Linked DNA regions of Homo sapiens: region 2 is linked to region 1. The links are contacts of gene promoters, found by promoter capture Hi-C in blood cells and fetal thymus (Javierre and others, 2016). All regions are on one chromosome and are shown on one strand. The core of a region is centred on a gene start or on the middle of the fragment in contact, and the rest is flanking DNA. Distances in the headings are between cores, read along the strand shown.

Region 1 (7,442 bases), core at 3,692-6,191:
CAGGAGCAAGTTATGTGGGGAAGCTGAGCCTGCTCTCCTCCCCTTCCCTCAGCCCCAGGGCTGAATCAGAACCATTCCAAGTGCAGGGATGCTTCTCTCTTAAGGAAATAGCATTCATTTCTAAGGCTTTTCTCATGGGGTGATGCCCCTTCCTGCCGGAGCTTTGCCATGAGGCAGGATGAAAAGTTCTGACAGCTGACAGCACAGCCATTCTCTCTGGCAGTGCTCCGTGATGTCCTAGGTCTCTGAAACCAGAATCTGTGTGACAGACTGAGGGTACCTGGACTCCATGGGTAGTCATAGTCCCTCCTACAAAGCCTCAGACCCACACTCTATGCTCCTGCCTTCTAGAAACTTCTGTCCAATCATAAGATTCCTTAGGATGGGTCCATGTGTGTGTTTTTAAATTTTTCTTATGCTTTCACAAGTGCACTTCTCCACCCACAGCTTTCTACTGGGCTCTGCTCATTGCTCAATCAGTGAAGGTTTGTTGACCACCTACAACAGCCAACTGCATGCAGTTCTGCTCTCCACCATCAGTTCTGGAAAAGCTGCTGCTTCACGGAAGAGAAAGGCAATTGCTTTGCCCAACCCAACATTCACTCTCCACATTAAAGAACGTTTCCTAAGAGAATCTTAATTTTTTTTTCTTTTTTCACTTTAAACAAAAATGAGATGGGGGTCTCACTGTATTGCTCAGGCTGGTCTTGAACTCCTAAGCTCAAGCAATCCTCCCACCTCGGCCTTTCAAATTGCTGAGATTACAGGTGTGAGCCACTGCACCCAGCCTCTAAGAGAGTTTTAAATTCTAATTTCAATTCCAACTATTGTGGATCTGGGCTTGACTCCTGGCTCTGACTCTCCAACCCGGGCTCCTCATCTGTGTGAGGATCAAATGAGATCATGCATTTGAAGGCATGTTATAAAGTGCAAAATCTCTGCAAGTGGCAGAGGCTTACTTACTCATTTATTTGTTTATAAACAGCAGATTCTCTAGAGAGACTCCTTGATTTTTTTTTTTTTTTTTTTTTTTTTTTTTTGGTGATACAGGGTCTCCCTTTGTTGACCAGGCTAGAGTGCAGTAGTGCAATCACAGCTCACTGCAGCCTTAACCTCCCTGGGCTCAGGTGATCCTTCCATCTCAGCGTCCTGAGCAGCTAGTACTATAGGCATGTGCTACCACAGCTGGCTAATTTTTGTCTTTTTTGTAGAGATGGGGTTTTACCATGTTGCCCAGGCTGGTCTCCAACCCCTGAGCTCAAGTGATCTGTCCTCCTCAGTCTCCCAAAGTGCTGGGATTACAGGCATGAGCCACAGCGCCCCAAGGACTCCTTGATTTTTAAAGTGAGATAGCCCCCTTCCCTATCTCTCTCATTAATTTAATGTTAAAACCCAGGAGTGGTGGAATGTTTCTGCTCAGGGCAGGGTTGGGTGGAAGTCCTGATGGGTTGGTCAAGTCATTAGGAGCAGCTATTTAAGGCTAATTGGCTTTGTATGGAGAGGTTGAGGTTGGGCTGGGAATGAGGTTGGGTTTGTCTCCCAGGGCTAGGCAGGGCTAGCAGCAGGGTTACGCCGCACTCTGAACTGGCATTCTTCTTACTTGTCAGATCTCCTGTCTAATTGGTCACCCCTAAGCCTCCATGCCTTGACCCAGAGCTACCCTGCAGTGGAGAATGGGGCTGCTTCTGACCTAGCGCTGTGCCGGTGAATGTCGGAACACCCCTCTCTCTTTTTTCCCTTCTTTCTGTTCTCAACCTAGGTGTCTGAAAGCCATCCTGCTCTCTGTATCTCTTCCTGTAGTCCAGAAGGGTGTTGGAAGCAGGGAGAATCAAGCAGTCTTTGCCAATTTATGAGCAGAGTTAGTAGAGGAGTGAGCCTGAGGCCCTTTCAAGGCCCCCATTAGGGCTGATGTGGTCCTGAGATAACAAAGGAGCCTTATGGGGGCATGATGACTTCAAGATGCCCCTTTCTAGGAAGGTGAAACGATACAAGGATGAGCTTGCCTGGGGCAGTGGGAGGAGAGCCTGTGGTGCATACTAGTTAGGAGAGAAGATTCTCACCCCTCCACCACTACCTAGTGATGCGAACCCTGTTCTGGGCCTCAGTTTTCTTATCTGTAAAATGGGAATAAAAAAATCTTCCCTATACCTATATTCCTTACCCAATTGTCAGAAGCAAGTGCAGTTAGCAGCTTTAAAATGCACTACAGATCAAAAAGTGCTAAAAATAAAAATAACACTATTATGGAGAGACCATCTGTCTCCCCAGTGTCTACCACAAGGCAAAGTGTAAACAGAATGAAGATTTTCTGGCCTCAGGCCACTAGTTTAGAAGAGAAAGTTTTCCATTCTGAGCGGTGGGGAAGAAACCAGGGTGAGACGACTCTTCTCTGACAGCCCGCCACCTACCATATCCTCTGCCCCATTCCCCCAGCATCTCCAAGCCTTGAAGAAAGCCTAGAAGAGTGTGTCTGATGCCTTGAGTGATTATAGATCTGAGACCCAATCCTGCAGTTCTTCATTCAGATGCTTAGCTAGGTAGGCTTAGGCAAAGCAATTGCTTTTCTGCTCTATAAAATGGGGATACTAACACCTTCTTTTCTGTTTTGAGGGTTAAATGAGTTAATACATGCAAAGTGAGTGTTTTCTGAATGTTAAGGTCTTGTTGATATTATTTCAAAGTAATGGGGTCTCCTTCCCTCCAGCCTGGCTAGAGGGCAGCCCCCATGCACTGCTCGAAGGCAGGGATCCTTGTGAGTGGGGTACCAGCTCTTCCACACAGAGCAACTTCCTCCCCTTTGTGGCTTGTGAGATCACACTTGGGTCTCAGAAACAACTAACTGAGGAGACTCTGGAAGTCCCCAGCCACCTAGGGAAAGCTTGTTCTGTCTTTCTAATTCACCAACTTCTCACCGATGCTTTCTGCAACAGGTGAGGGGACACTGGCCACAGAAGGTGCAAGTCTGCCTTCCTCAGTGGGCCATGGAGTTCCACTGCGATTCTTGACTTCTCCCAGCTTTTTGCCCCTTCCAGCCTTGAAATGCTTCACTCACATGCCCAATAAATGGGATTGCCCACTAGGGAGGTGGAGGGGGCATGAAGAAAGTGTTCAGCTCACCCTCTGTGAGAGCCCAGACAGGTGGCTGCTGGGAAGGAGGAGCAGGGACCTATAAGGGTCAGGGGAAGGGCCCAGCACATGCTCCTGGGGTCCTGGGGCAGGCAGATTAACAGGTGAGGGGAAACAGAAGCTCTGTGGAGCCATCTTGGGGGAACTTTCTTACTGGAATGTTCCTCTGTGGTATATATGGCTGCTTGTGCTTGCAAGGAGGAGAGAGGGAGACAGCTCTTCCCTGTTTACTCCCACTCCCCAAAAAAGAGGTGGCCTATTTGGGACACTCTGGTGCTCCTTTTCCAGGACACAGTCCTTCTGCCCAGCTAACACTGCCGGAGTCTTGGGCTTAAAAATTACAGCAAAGCTCTCTCTCAGGCCCCTGATTCTCGAGCCCTGGTGGACCATCAGAATCTCCTGAAGTATTAAAACAAGATTCCTGGGTCTCGATTCAGTAGATCTGCAGTGAGAGCCGACATCTGTATTTTTAGTAAGCCCTCCACACTCCTCCCTCTCCAGCCCTTAGGTGACTGTGAAGATCAGCTGTGTGTGGGACCCCTGATCTCCCTACACCCCGCCTGCCTTGGGACAGACCCTCTCTATTAATAGAGAGGAATGAGCAGGGGAGCAGGAGAGGGGCCGCCCTTCAGTTTTCCCCTCCCCAACTGCTTAAGGAACTGCTGCCTTTTTTTTTTTTTCTCCTCTGCCACAGGACCTTTTGCCAACCTAAATGGTTGGAATAATTTCAGAACGGCTTTAAAGAAAAATATTTTTCTGGCTGCCTGCAGGAAAAAAAAATAAAAAAATGAACTGTCCCCAGAGCTGGGAATTAGGACCTTCAAGGATTGGGAACTGGGTCGCTTTCTTCTTTCTTTCCAAAAGCCAAGTGGTTTGGACCAGTGAGACAGAAATTGAAAGCTGCTGAGAAGACACTGTGCAGGTTGGAAAAAGCCGTTTTTCTCTCCCTCCTACCCAGTGAAGCCCTAAATAATGAAGAAACCCTTCCAGCTCCCGCTCTTGCTTATCTCCTCCCTATTCGGCCTGGACTTGGGATGCAAGATTTTCTTCTGGCTCTGCCATCTCAGTGGGAAAACGTACTTTATCTTTGCTCTTACAGCTAGGGAGGTGTGTGTGAGAGGGCGAGAGACAAGATGCAGGGAACATGTGTGCATGCATGTGTGTGTGTGTCTGCTGGTGTCTGGTGATGATGTGGTCTAGCTCTGCATGTCAGATGCAGAGGGCAGAGGTGAATGGACAGGATGTCTTCATTTTGTATGGTCGTGTGGGGTGATGGTAGTGAACGTGCAGCCTCCGTGTGATGTGTGTGACTTCCACAATGTGTGACAATACACAAAAGGTGCAAAGAAATGGGTTCTGGAGTCCAGTTTCTATGGAAACACCTGATCTGTAGAAACACTTTGTGCAGCGTGGCTCTCTGTGCTACAACAAACATCTGCAGCAGGAAAGCTTAACTTTTGCAGTAAGCAAATATAGGGGTACAGAGTGATGAAAAGAAAAGGAAGAGGCTATAGGAAAGAAGTTAGGAAGACTAAATTTGAACTCATTTGAGAGGAGAAAGAGGTGGGAGGAAGGAAGGAGTGAGAGGATAGAGACTAGATCAATAAATGGACAGAGCTGGAGGAAACTTACTGGATGAAAGATTCTTCCCAGTCTCCTGCCCATCTCCCAACTGGGCTTACCTGCACACACCTGCCTCTCCTCTCAGCTCTGAGTTTAGTCCTCCTCTTCCACCCCCTCCCTTCGGCGGAGCTGTGGCAGCAGAGAGCCAGCTAGAAGATCTGATCTCCCAGTGGTGTGTGCGTGCTTGTGTTTGCCTGACTTTTCTTCCACCAGATCCTATTGGGGTGGGGAGGTTAGCTTGGGGGGAGGGAGGGGCAGATCATAGGGAGGGAGGGGAGGAGAGGAGGGAGGAGGGAGGGAGGGGAGGGGAGGAGAGAGGGAGGGAGCTTGGGAAAGGAGGAATGACAATAAAGTCTTTATTTGGCAGCCAAAACTCCCAAAGACTTCATCCACACACCATTCCCACTAACAGACTCATTTTTAATAACATTTCCTTCTGCTGCTGCCGCTTCTGGAGAGGGGTTGTTTGACCCATGTTTGGAAAACAAGCCAAATTAACAGAGTGAAAAGGCATGAAAAGCAACCTCTGTGTAAGCCAGGACTGGATGGCTGGGTCCAGCACTAGCCTGTTTAATTCCTCCTAACAATCGCCTTGCCTTCTGGGGCCGTTGCTCGGTAGTGTTAAATTCCTAAACCAGTGAGGGGTTTGGGATGCTTCCTCTGAGCAGTGACAGTCTTTCCCTAAGTTATCTTCTCCAGGAGGTTGCAAAGGGAGTGGAGTCTCAGGCTGGCATAGGAGATAACTTCGGTTTGGCTGCCAGGGCTGTTCTGAGAACCAGAGAGGGAGAAGTCTGGCCTGAGTTGCACAGCAAAGTTAAGGCAGAATTAAGATTTAATGTAAGACCTAAAGTCACTGTTCCTAGCTCATGTGGACAATGTAGTGGCTTCTTTCAGCTTCTCCATATCACACTTAGGTGAGATTTAGGGGCTGTGTGGTCATCACACAAAGTGATGGGAAATCCAAATTTCCCCTGTGCACATCAACACCCCAGAAGACCCAGTCAAGTAACACCACTACCTCTAACAATCCTCTAACAATGCCCCTCAATTAAGAAAGCACAACACACTTGCAGGTAAGTAGATGCCCATCAAAATTTCCTGCCATGGCCAGGCACAGTGGCTCACGCCTGTAATCCCAGTACTGTGGGAGGCAGAGGCAGGCGGATCACCTGAGGTCAGGAGTTTGAGGCCAACCTGGCCAACATGGTGAAACCCTGTCTGTACTAAAAATACAAAAAAATTAGCTGGGTGTGGTGGCGGGCATCTGTAGTCCCAGCTACTAGGGAGGCTGAGGCAGGAGAATTGCTTGAACCTGGGAGGCAAAGCTTGCAGTGAGCCAAGATCGTGCCACTGCACTCCAGCCTGGGCAACAAGAGCGTGACTCTGTCTCAAAAAATAAATAAGTAAATAAAATAAATAAATTCCTGCCATCCCAGCTGACTACTTAGAAAATGCAACGCAATTTTCTTCTCCATTATTGGTTCCATGGAGAGCTGCAGAGCCCCATGACAGGGGACTGCCTGCCTGCCCTCCGCAATATGGGGTAGAGGAGAGAACATTAAAATTAGGGTCTGCAGCCCTGGGCTCAGCCACCCACAAGCTATGGTCTTAGGTGAATCACTTGATCATGAGGACCTTCAGTTTCCTCATTTACAAAATATGGATAATATTGACCTCACAGGGTTGGGAAGATTAAATATTGTAAATGTGAGAGCACTTTATAAACTGGGAAGATATTAGGGTTTAGGAAAGGGATTGCGATGAATGGTAATTAGCCTAAGAAAAGGAGAAGGAAAAATAAAACCCAGACCTTTCTCCAACCCCCTTCCACCCCAGATCTCATGGCTTCACGCCCTGCTGGTGAGGTCTTGCTGGAAGACAGCACGGTTCCTCTCCAGGTTCACATTAACTGTGGCTCTGCCAGGCTGCTCATGTGCTTCATTTCTCATCCAGATGGGATATGGCGTCTTCTGCAGGCCGGGAACATCAGACGCCAGATTTGCTTGTTTCCCTTGGTATGGTGGGTGGTAGATGATAGAGGGCAAAAAAGACTGGCTGGGCACGGAGACTCATGTCTGTAATCCCAGCACTATGGGAGACGAAGGCAGAAGATTAATGGAGCCCAGGAGTTCGAGACCAGCCTGGGCCATATGGGGGGACCCTGTTTGTACAAATAATTTAAAAATTAGCTGGGTGTGGTGGTGTGTACCTGAAGTCCCAGCTACTTAGGAGACTGAGGTGAGAGGATTATTTGAGGCCAGGAGACCAAGGCTGTAATGAGCTATGATTACGCCAGTGCCCTCCAGCCTGGGTCACAGAGCAAGACCCTGTCTCAAAAAATAATAAGGTGAGCAAAGTACAGTGAGGTACAGGGATGATGGGTAGAGTGTCTGTGGGGATAGACAGACTGGAAGGAGTGTGGAGTATGGGCAGGGGCAGGGGTGTCACCTGTATCCATTTGTATGACAGCCATCCAAATCCCAAGAGTCTATGCTCTCGGGAATGGATGGCCAACTTCCAAGCCCTGCCTAAGCCAGTTATCTCCCTTCCTCCCTCTCCTATCTCCCGCATCCCACGCTATGCAGAGAGAATTGGAAAGAAGTATAGACATGGCCAGCAGGATATTCAGGAGTGTCCAGAATAGAGTTTGCTAATCAGTGGCTTGTGGACCTAATATGGCTTGAGTACCTAAT
Region 2 (7,442 bases), core at 2,838-5,337, 94 kb after region 1:
TGGGTGACAGAGCTAGACTCTGCCTCAAAAAAAAAAAAAAAAAAAAAAAAAGTAACCTTCCCCTTCCCGAAGCCATTAGGTAAGGCAGAGGAAAGTTGGCATCCACAGAGAGGGATGGCTTGTGATGGGGAGTCAGAGCCTGAGCAGGGCAGGGCCATTCACACAGGGGAGAGTAGATTGTCATGGGCTGTGAGATGCTGAGGCATCTACATGGATGGAAAAGGGTGGCTTGCACCTTTTACAGAGCCTGCACGGGGAGACAAGATGTCCACATACAAGGGTGGCCCACTGGAGGATATCAGAGCCCAAGCCAGATGAGGGGGCCATCAACATGGCACAGGGGCAGCAACAGGGATGGGAAATTGGTTACTTACAGGGGGAATAGATTGAAGAAGAAAGCATTTTGTCTTTTCTTTTCTTTTTTCTTTTTTTTTTTTTTTTTTGAAATGGAGTTTCACTCTTGTTGCCCAGGTTGGAGTGCAATGGCACGATCTCGGCTCACTGCAACCTCTGCCTCCCAGGTTCAAGCAATTCTCCTGCCTCAGCCTCCCGAGTAGCTGGGATTACAGGTGTGCACCAACACTCCTGGCTAATTCCCTTTTTTTTTTTTTTTTTTTGAGATAGTGTCTTGCTCTGTCGCCAGGCTGGAGTGCAGTGGTGCAATCTCGGCTCACTGCAACCTCCACCTCCTGGGTTCAAGTGATTCTCCTGCCTCAGCCTCCCGAGTAGCTGGCACTACAGGCACGCACCACCACGCCCAGCTAATTTTTGTATTTTTAGTAGAGACAGGGTTTCACCATGTTGGCCAGGCTTGTCTTGAACTCGTGAGCTCAAGCAATCCGCCCCATCTCGGCCTCCCAAAGTGCTGGGATCACAGGCGTGAGCCACTGCACCTGGCCAAGAATGGTTTTTATAGGGGAACATTTACAATCAATTTGATAATAGGGAACACTCACTTTGAACCCAAATTAAGTCAAATCTTACCCTCACAAAAGAATTCCTCTCTTATTAGTAGACCTGCATTAAAAAAATTTACTCAATAATTATTACAGTTTTAATTTCATCAGTGACAATTTTGCAAAAATTTTTAATTTCTCATTATAAAAGTACCTATATACTATCCTTGATTTTGCCCCCTGGACCACAAAACCTAAAATATTTATTATCTGATCCTTTACACAAAACAGCTGACCCTTGGTCTCAACTAACCTAAATAAATAAATGAGTAAATTCCATGGTTGATGAGAAGTGGGATATCTGAATAGTTTTGAAGTACTGCCCTGCAAGATTCTTTTTAGTTACAAAGGGAAAAGGAAAATGTCACAGTGAGAAGCCCAGCAGACACCAGTTTAAGTAATCAAAGCAAACATCTTCAGTAATAGGACAAACTGGAATTGAGCTCCACCTGCTAGGATGCAGTGGGAACCCAGATCACTCCTGTGATCTTCTTTCCAAAGAGGCAAAACCTGAATCTAATCACACGAAAACAAACAAACCCACACCAATAGAGATCTATTATATAAAATAACTGGCCTCTAATCTAAAATTGTCAAGGTCATGTCAAGGAAAGACTGAGGAACTGTTCCAGACATAAGAGACCAAAGAGACATGGCAACCAAATGCTACACAGAATTCCAAACTGGATACTTTTGCTATAAAGGAGATCCTTGGGACAAATGGCAAAACAGGAATGGGCTCCAGGGATTAACAGGCAATACTATACCAGTGTTAATTTCCTGATTCCCATGGTTGTATTGCAGCTATGCAGCTATGCAACATGCAGCATGTCCTACAAACAAATCCATTGTTTGTAGGACATACACATTAAATTTTTCAGGAGTGCTGGGGCATTGGCTGGTGACTTACTCTCAGCAGTTCAGGGGGAATAAAGGTTTTTGTACTATACTTGCAACTTCACTATACATTTGAGATTATCTCAAAACAAACAAAATGGAAGGCTTTGACAAAGTTAGGGAGTTTTCTATTATTCTCACTTTCCTAGACTCCCTTAGAGCTAGGGATGCACACACAGCTCTGGTGAATGAAACACAAGCAGAAGAGTGCTGGGAATTTATGGGGGAAGCTTGTGCTTTTCTGACACAGACTCCATCCCGTCCTCTATCTTCCAGAACATGGACGTGATACTCAGAGGAAAAGCATTCTGGATTTTATAACACCAAGATGACATATATGAAGAGTAAAACCCTTACACCAAAGATGGCAGAGAGCATGCTCAAAAGATGCTGGCTTCCCCCAAGCAAGACGATTGCCTACTGCAGAAAGCTCTGAGTGGGACTGCAGGGCGGCTCAGGAGGACAGCAGGGAGAGGTCTGTCATTCCGCTGTGCAGTGTGGCCTCTTCCTCCTGCCATCATCCCTGCACCCACCCTTCATGCTGGCTATTACATAAACAAATCATAAAATAAAATATTAATTTAAAAAAAAAACAGAGGAAGAGAAGAAAAGAAAATTACAACGAAAACTTTAAAGTCAGGAAGAGGGCTGGGGACAGTGGCTCACACCTGTAATTCCAGCACTTAGGAGGCCGAGGCGGGTGGATTGTGTGAGGTCAGGAGTTCAAGACCAGCCAGGCCAACATGGTGAAACCCCATCTCTACTAAAAATACAAAAATTAGCCAGGCGTGGTGGTGCACACCTGTAATTCCAGCTACTCAGGAAGCTGAGGCAGGACAATGGCTTGAACCCGGGAGGCAGAGGCTGCAGTGAGCCAAGATCACGCCACTACACTCCAGCCTGGGCTCAATGAGTCAGGGGTGCTGGAGGAGCATTCCTAGAGAGAAGTATTTGGTGAAGAAGCCAACCAAATTTGGGGGTTGTGGAGATAGCCATGGGTGGATAGGGATGTGTGAAACAAGATGCTAATACACAACTCTTTCTTCCTCAGTTTTGAAGGAGAGCCCAAAGGCTTGGCGCAAACTGATAGGTGCAAAATGAGCCCACATTCCAGAGTGAGGGCTAAACCATCTACAAGGGACACACAACTGAGATATTGAAGAACCCACTTTACAACCCTGAGCACATCAAGCACTTACAGGTGTTAAAGATTGAGATGGAAAGTGGGGAGTAAGTGGAGAGAGACAGAACTTGATTTCCTTGGAGAAAGATGGAGAAATGTTCTGAGGAAGAAGCCTGCCCTTCACATGAAAACAAGTGATTGGGGCTTTCAGGAACCACTTGGCGACCATAATAGAAATAAGCGACTGGAGCTGGACCCACGCCTGCAAAGGTAATGAAGGCAAGAACCTGTGGCTGGTTATCTGCCTGGGCATAGCCAAGTAAAGACTGTTGTGTTGGGAAGTAGCCGTAATCCCATGACAGTAGGACCAAAATGCTGATGAGAGCCCAGCAAGGGATGGTGGCCTGGGGATGCTGTTCATATAGCCTGCCTGGAGGAACAATGGGGTCCCCACAAGAGTCTGTATGGTGTGGACTAAAGGATGCATAGGCGCTAAGGGAGGGGTGATGAATGGAGAGCTGGAGGAAAGGCAGGGTCAGTATCAAGGAAGCTGCCAGCAGAGAAGCCCAACCCCTGTGTAAGAAACCTATGTAAGACCCAAGAGAAGAAAGTCAGCTTTAAACACCTGCCAAGGCCAGAAAATTCTGTGCTATCCTACAACAGTACCAGCCGAGCAAGACCTTTCCTGCTCTTTGCATCTCCTCCCTCTCCCAGAGCAGCAGCCCCAGAGGACAAGAGGCAGCCTAGTGAGAAGGGGAGGAGGAGGAGATGTACACAGCAGGGAAACAGATGAAGTTCATCACCATCCATTATTCCCCACTGCAGCTCCTGGCCTGATGCAGACAAAGGCTGAGAGAGAGGAGAAGTTTAAATGTCATAAGAAATTTGGAGTTTTGATTCAGTAGAAAGGAAATAAGTGATGTTTCAAGAGGGAGAGGGGATATCAGCAGGACCAAAGGTCCCAAGTAGACAGGAGATGGGATCGATCCAATGTTTAAGTGGGGATGGGGGTGGGGGAGCTGCCTCAATAGGAGTAAGGGCTGTTGGTCCACTGTAGCTGGGGATTGAGGGCGTGGATTGACTAGGGAAGTGTAGCTGGACTTCCAGGCAGTTCTGAGCCTCGTTAGAGATGCATCATCTTGTATTCAGGGTAGAATCAGTCCACACGGTTGCGGTTTTCCTCTGGCCACGTTTGCTTTCTTGGAATGGTATAGAATGAGCAGAGAGCTGGATCTACATAAGGTTAGGGTTTTGCTGGGAAGGTATGTTGGAGGAAGACCAGGACATGCCCAAAGGGGTGGTTATGAAGGGCCATAGAATCTATACTGGGTTAGGAAGGAAGTGAAGACAGGAGGGGATGAAGGAAAATTTCAGGGCTAGGGTAGCAGAGGTCTTAATGAGTAGGAAGAATTGTGGGCGTGATTGTGACTATAGGCAGCCATTACAGAACAACCCTAAAATGGTAGAAACAAATCTATCAACACCATTCACTCCTACTTTCCCACCCATTGACCTCTTCATTTCTGATTATCTGTTGTTCTGACCCTCTGGTCCCTGGCATGTCCTGTTCATCCTTCAGCAAACTACTAGAGCCGTAAACCCTCCCCCAGTTCTTGGCATTGCAACAACACTAAGAGGGTTTCCCCTCCAACTTTCATTTCCTATTTTCTTTTGTCTTATAAATTTCCACTTCTGGACCTGTGTGCTTTTGATAAAGCTCAGTGATTTTTCAGAAGCTCAGAGGTCAGGACAGATGTGTAACTTTCCCTGACTCCAGTTGGGTAAAGTGTTCTGTCTCTCATGTAAGAATTTTTCCCATGAGAGAGTTCTGGGAGACAAGAAATATCCCAACTCCTCTAGACAAGCTGTAGGAAATAATGGAAAATCTTATGGCCACAGACCCACTAGCACCATCCTGCTAAACTGGTAAAGAGGCTAGAGCTTGAGACCTGGAAAATGCCAGGGTACTGCAGCCAGAGAACTATCCTTAGAGCACAAGGGTCCCGGAGGAATAAAGCTAGATGTTGCCAAGTTGTTTTGACTCTATAAGCTGAAGCATATACAGTCAGGAGCTGCCCAGGCAAGGCAGAACCTGCAACTTGTGTGCTGTGCTGTCTTGGTCAAGTACACATGGTGGGTAGAACCGAAAAAAAAAAAAAAAAAAACCCATACATGGTGTTTTTCAACCTCTGTTCTTTCCCAAGCAGGTGTCTATTCTGCCTTCTGAAGACAAAATCTCCTTAAGGAAGTAGAGCCCTCACTAAATCTCCCATGATACGCCCTGAGCTTCTAAAGGGAGTGATCTTAACACTGGCATATTTATTCTCTGACTCTAAGTAAAAGAGGGACTCCAGCAGCAGTGCTCCGGAGCCAGCCCATCCTGCCTTGCAAGAACTGACAGTGAAATTTTCCAGAACTCTGAGAGCCAGTTGTTAAAGGCATATGTCATTTGAAAATAAATTATATAAACTTAAAATTATATCACATTAAAAATAAAAGTAATAAGTACTCAAAACTCATCACTTGCTAATTATTTTACTGTATTGATTAGTATCTTCACTCTTGAGGTTACATACCCCCTACTGCATCTACGTGGTAGAAATACTCTGAAATGGGGTACTCCTGGGCATCTCCTCCTAACCCCACACTCAGTGACTTCACTTTGGTAGTTCCAAACAGGCCATGGAAATCAGCAAACACTGCAAGGCAATGCCCCACCCCTACCTCCCAGACAGCTGATTGTTAAACCTTTACCAGCACATCACTGGACTCCAGGGGCCCAGGAGGGTCAGTGGGAAGAACCACAGCTTCAGCCCACCCCAGGAGCCTGCCATTTTCCCTGTCTGGTGCATGCCCCCTCCCCTGTGCAGGGAGAGGGCAATACTGCATTTACTCACTTGAAGGGCATCTTGGCCAGATGGTTTCCCTCAGACAGTGGTGCTAAGGAGCTGGCTAGGAAAATATTTTCCCAACTCTGCCTGGCTTCCTTTGAACAGGAATAAAACTGGTTCTCAGAAATGCAGCCAGTAGGTAAGTAAATAAGGCAGCTGTGCTCCGAGTTCCAGCTGAAATAAATAAAACTTATGAGTCTGGTTTGCATAAAGAGAAAGCTTATGGATTCAGATTTTCCTCCCTTCCTGCCCTCTGGTCTCTCTCCTACAACAGGACCCCATGTGTGCCTGCATCGCCCTCCCCGCTTCCCCGGGGATGTGATCACCACCTGGTTGTTCATTGGCTATAGTACAGGATAAACTTGCAGCTTTCTGGACACTTGTTTCCAATGGTGGAGCTATTTATTTCTCTTTTCATAGTAGACATTGCCTAGCCTCCATGGGCCCTTTCAAGGGTCCATGTTCAAGGATCTCCTGTTCTGAGCTGGAATAACCCCCCAGCCCCTGAGTCCATTTGAAGTTAGGTCATTTCACTTGAGGGCCAAGGACAGAAGAAGGAGATGGGGAATCTAGCAGGTTTAGGAATTCAGCTAGATTTCTGACATGCCCTGAAAATAGGTGATTGCCTTTACTACCCTAAAATCTGATGGTGAATTAACCACACACAGATGTACTTTGCACATGCACTTCATGTGAGTATATGCCAGGGGCACTGCAGAAATAGCTCTATTTACTAGTTTCTATTTATTCACATTATGTGTTAGAGTGTGGTGTGTATGTGTATGTATGTGTTAGGGTGTGGTCTGTTGTGAACCCAGATGCAGGTATACATGTATGTGTGTAGACGGGCATATGTGAGGGTCATTTTCTAGATGCCTGGGCATTTAAACGTGTATGGAATTATGTGTGAGTAGCTATGTATGTTTCTCTGTGTCTTTGTATAGGCAGATGTGATTGTGTGCGTGCAGGACTGAGCCTCGTGACTTCTGAAAACCTGGTTGAAATGCTGGGAGAATGTCATCATCTTCTAAAAATAGAGGAGCTGAAATATTTTGAAGAAAGGATTGAACACACACACACATACACACACCCCCAAACACATTTCTGTTTTGAGATTCCCTATGTTCCCTTAAGCCCTGTGTGCAATGGAAAAACACCAAATATTTGCAGTTTTCTGTCATGATAAGGATTGTTGACTTCATCCAGGGACAGAATTTTATCACTCAGTTGTCAGGGGAAGGGTGTGGGAGGGGGCTCTGAAGGGGACAGGTTTAGATGAATCAAGCCTAACCTTGCTTCTCTGCATCTGATGCCATCTGTCTTTAAAACATCTTGGCCTGCTTCCCACCGTTCAAAGGGAAGGAGCTTGTCTCTAGCTGTGGATCCATTTGGCACACAGGCGAGGGAACAGAGGGGCCGTGGTCATCTTCCTTTTGAGGATAAGAAGACACAAAGACATGAGATCCTGTTGTAGCATAATGGGGTTAGAACCAACAGAAAACGTCTACTTCTTTATGAGTTGTGAGATATGATAAAGGCTTTCTGAAGTGTTTGTGAAGTCTGTTCCAGGTGATT

Evidence for each region. The method cuts DNA at HindIII sites, captures the fragments that hold promoters and counts their contacts. A CHiCAGO score of 5 or more calls a contact.
Region 2: a contact is called between a fragment that was not itself captured here and the fragment with the promoter of PRELP in region 1, in 2 of 17 cell types (M2 macrophages and M1 macrophages). The highest score is 6.8, in M2 macrophages.

What each region holds. Positions count from the first base shown.
Region 1 is chr1:203,473,305-203,480,746 of GRCh38, reverse strand. It overlaps PRELP (proline and arginine rich end leucine rich repeat protein), which reads right to left and starts at 4,941. Exons shown (of 3, transcript NM_002725.4): 1 at 4,809-4,941. The HindIII fragment of the contact is 1,499 bases long and covers 4,578-6,076 here.
Region 2 is chr1:203,378,502-203,385,943 of GRCh38, reverse strand. LOC102723529 (a long non-coding RNA gene) reads right to left here. Exons shown (of 7, transcript XR_922438.3): 4 at 7,159-7,297; 5 at 5,874-6,041. Among named protein-coding and RNA genes, the nearest start is that of BMNCR, 25 kb to the left of the region's middle. The HindIII fragment of the contact is 4,003 bases long and covers 2,086-6,088 here.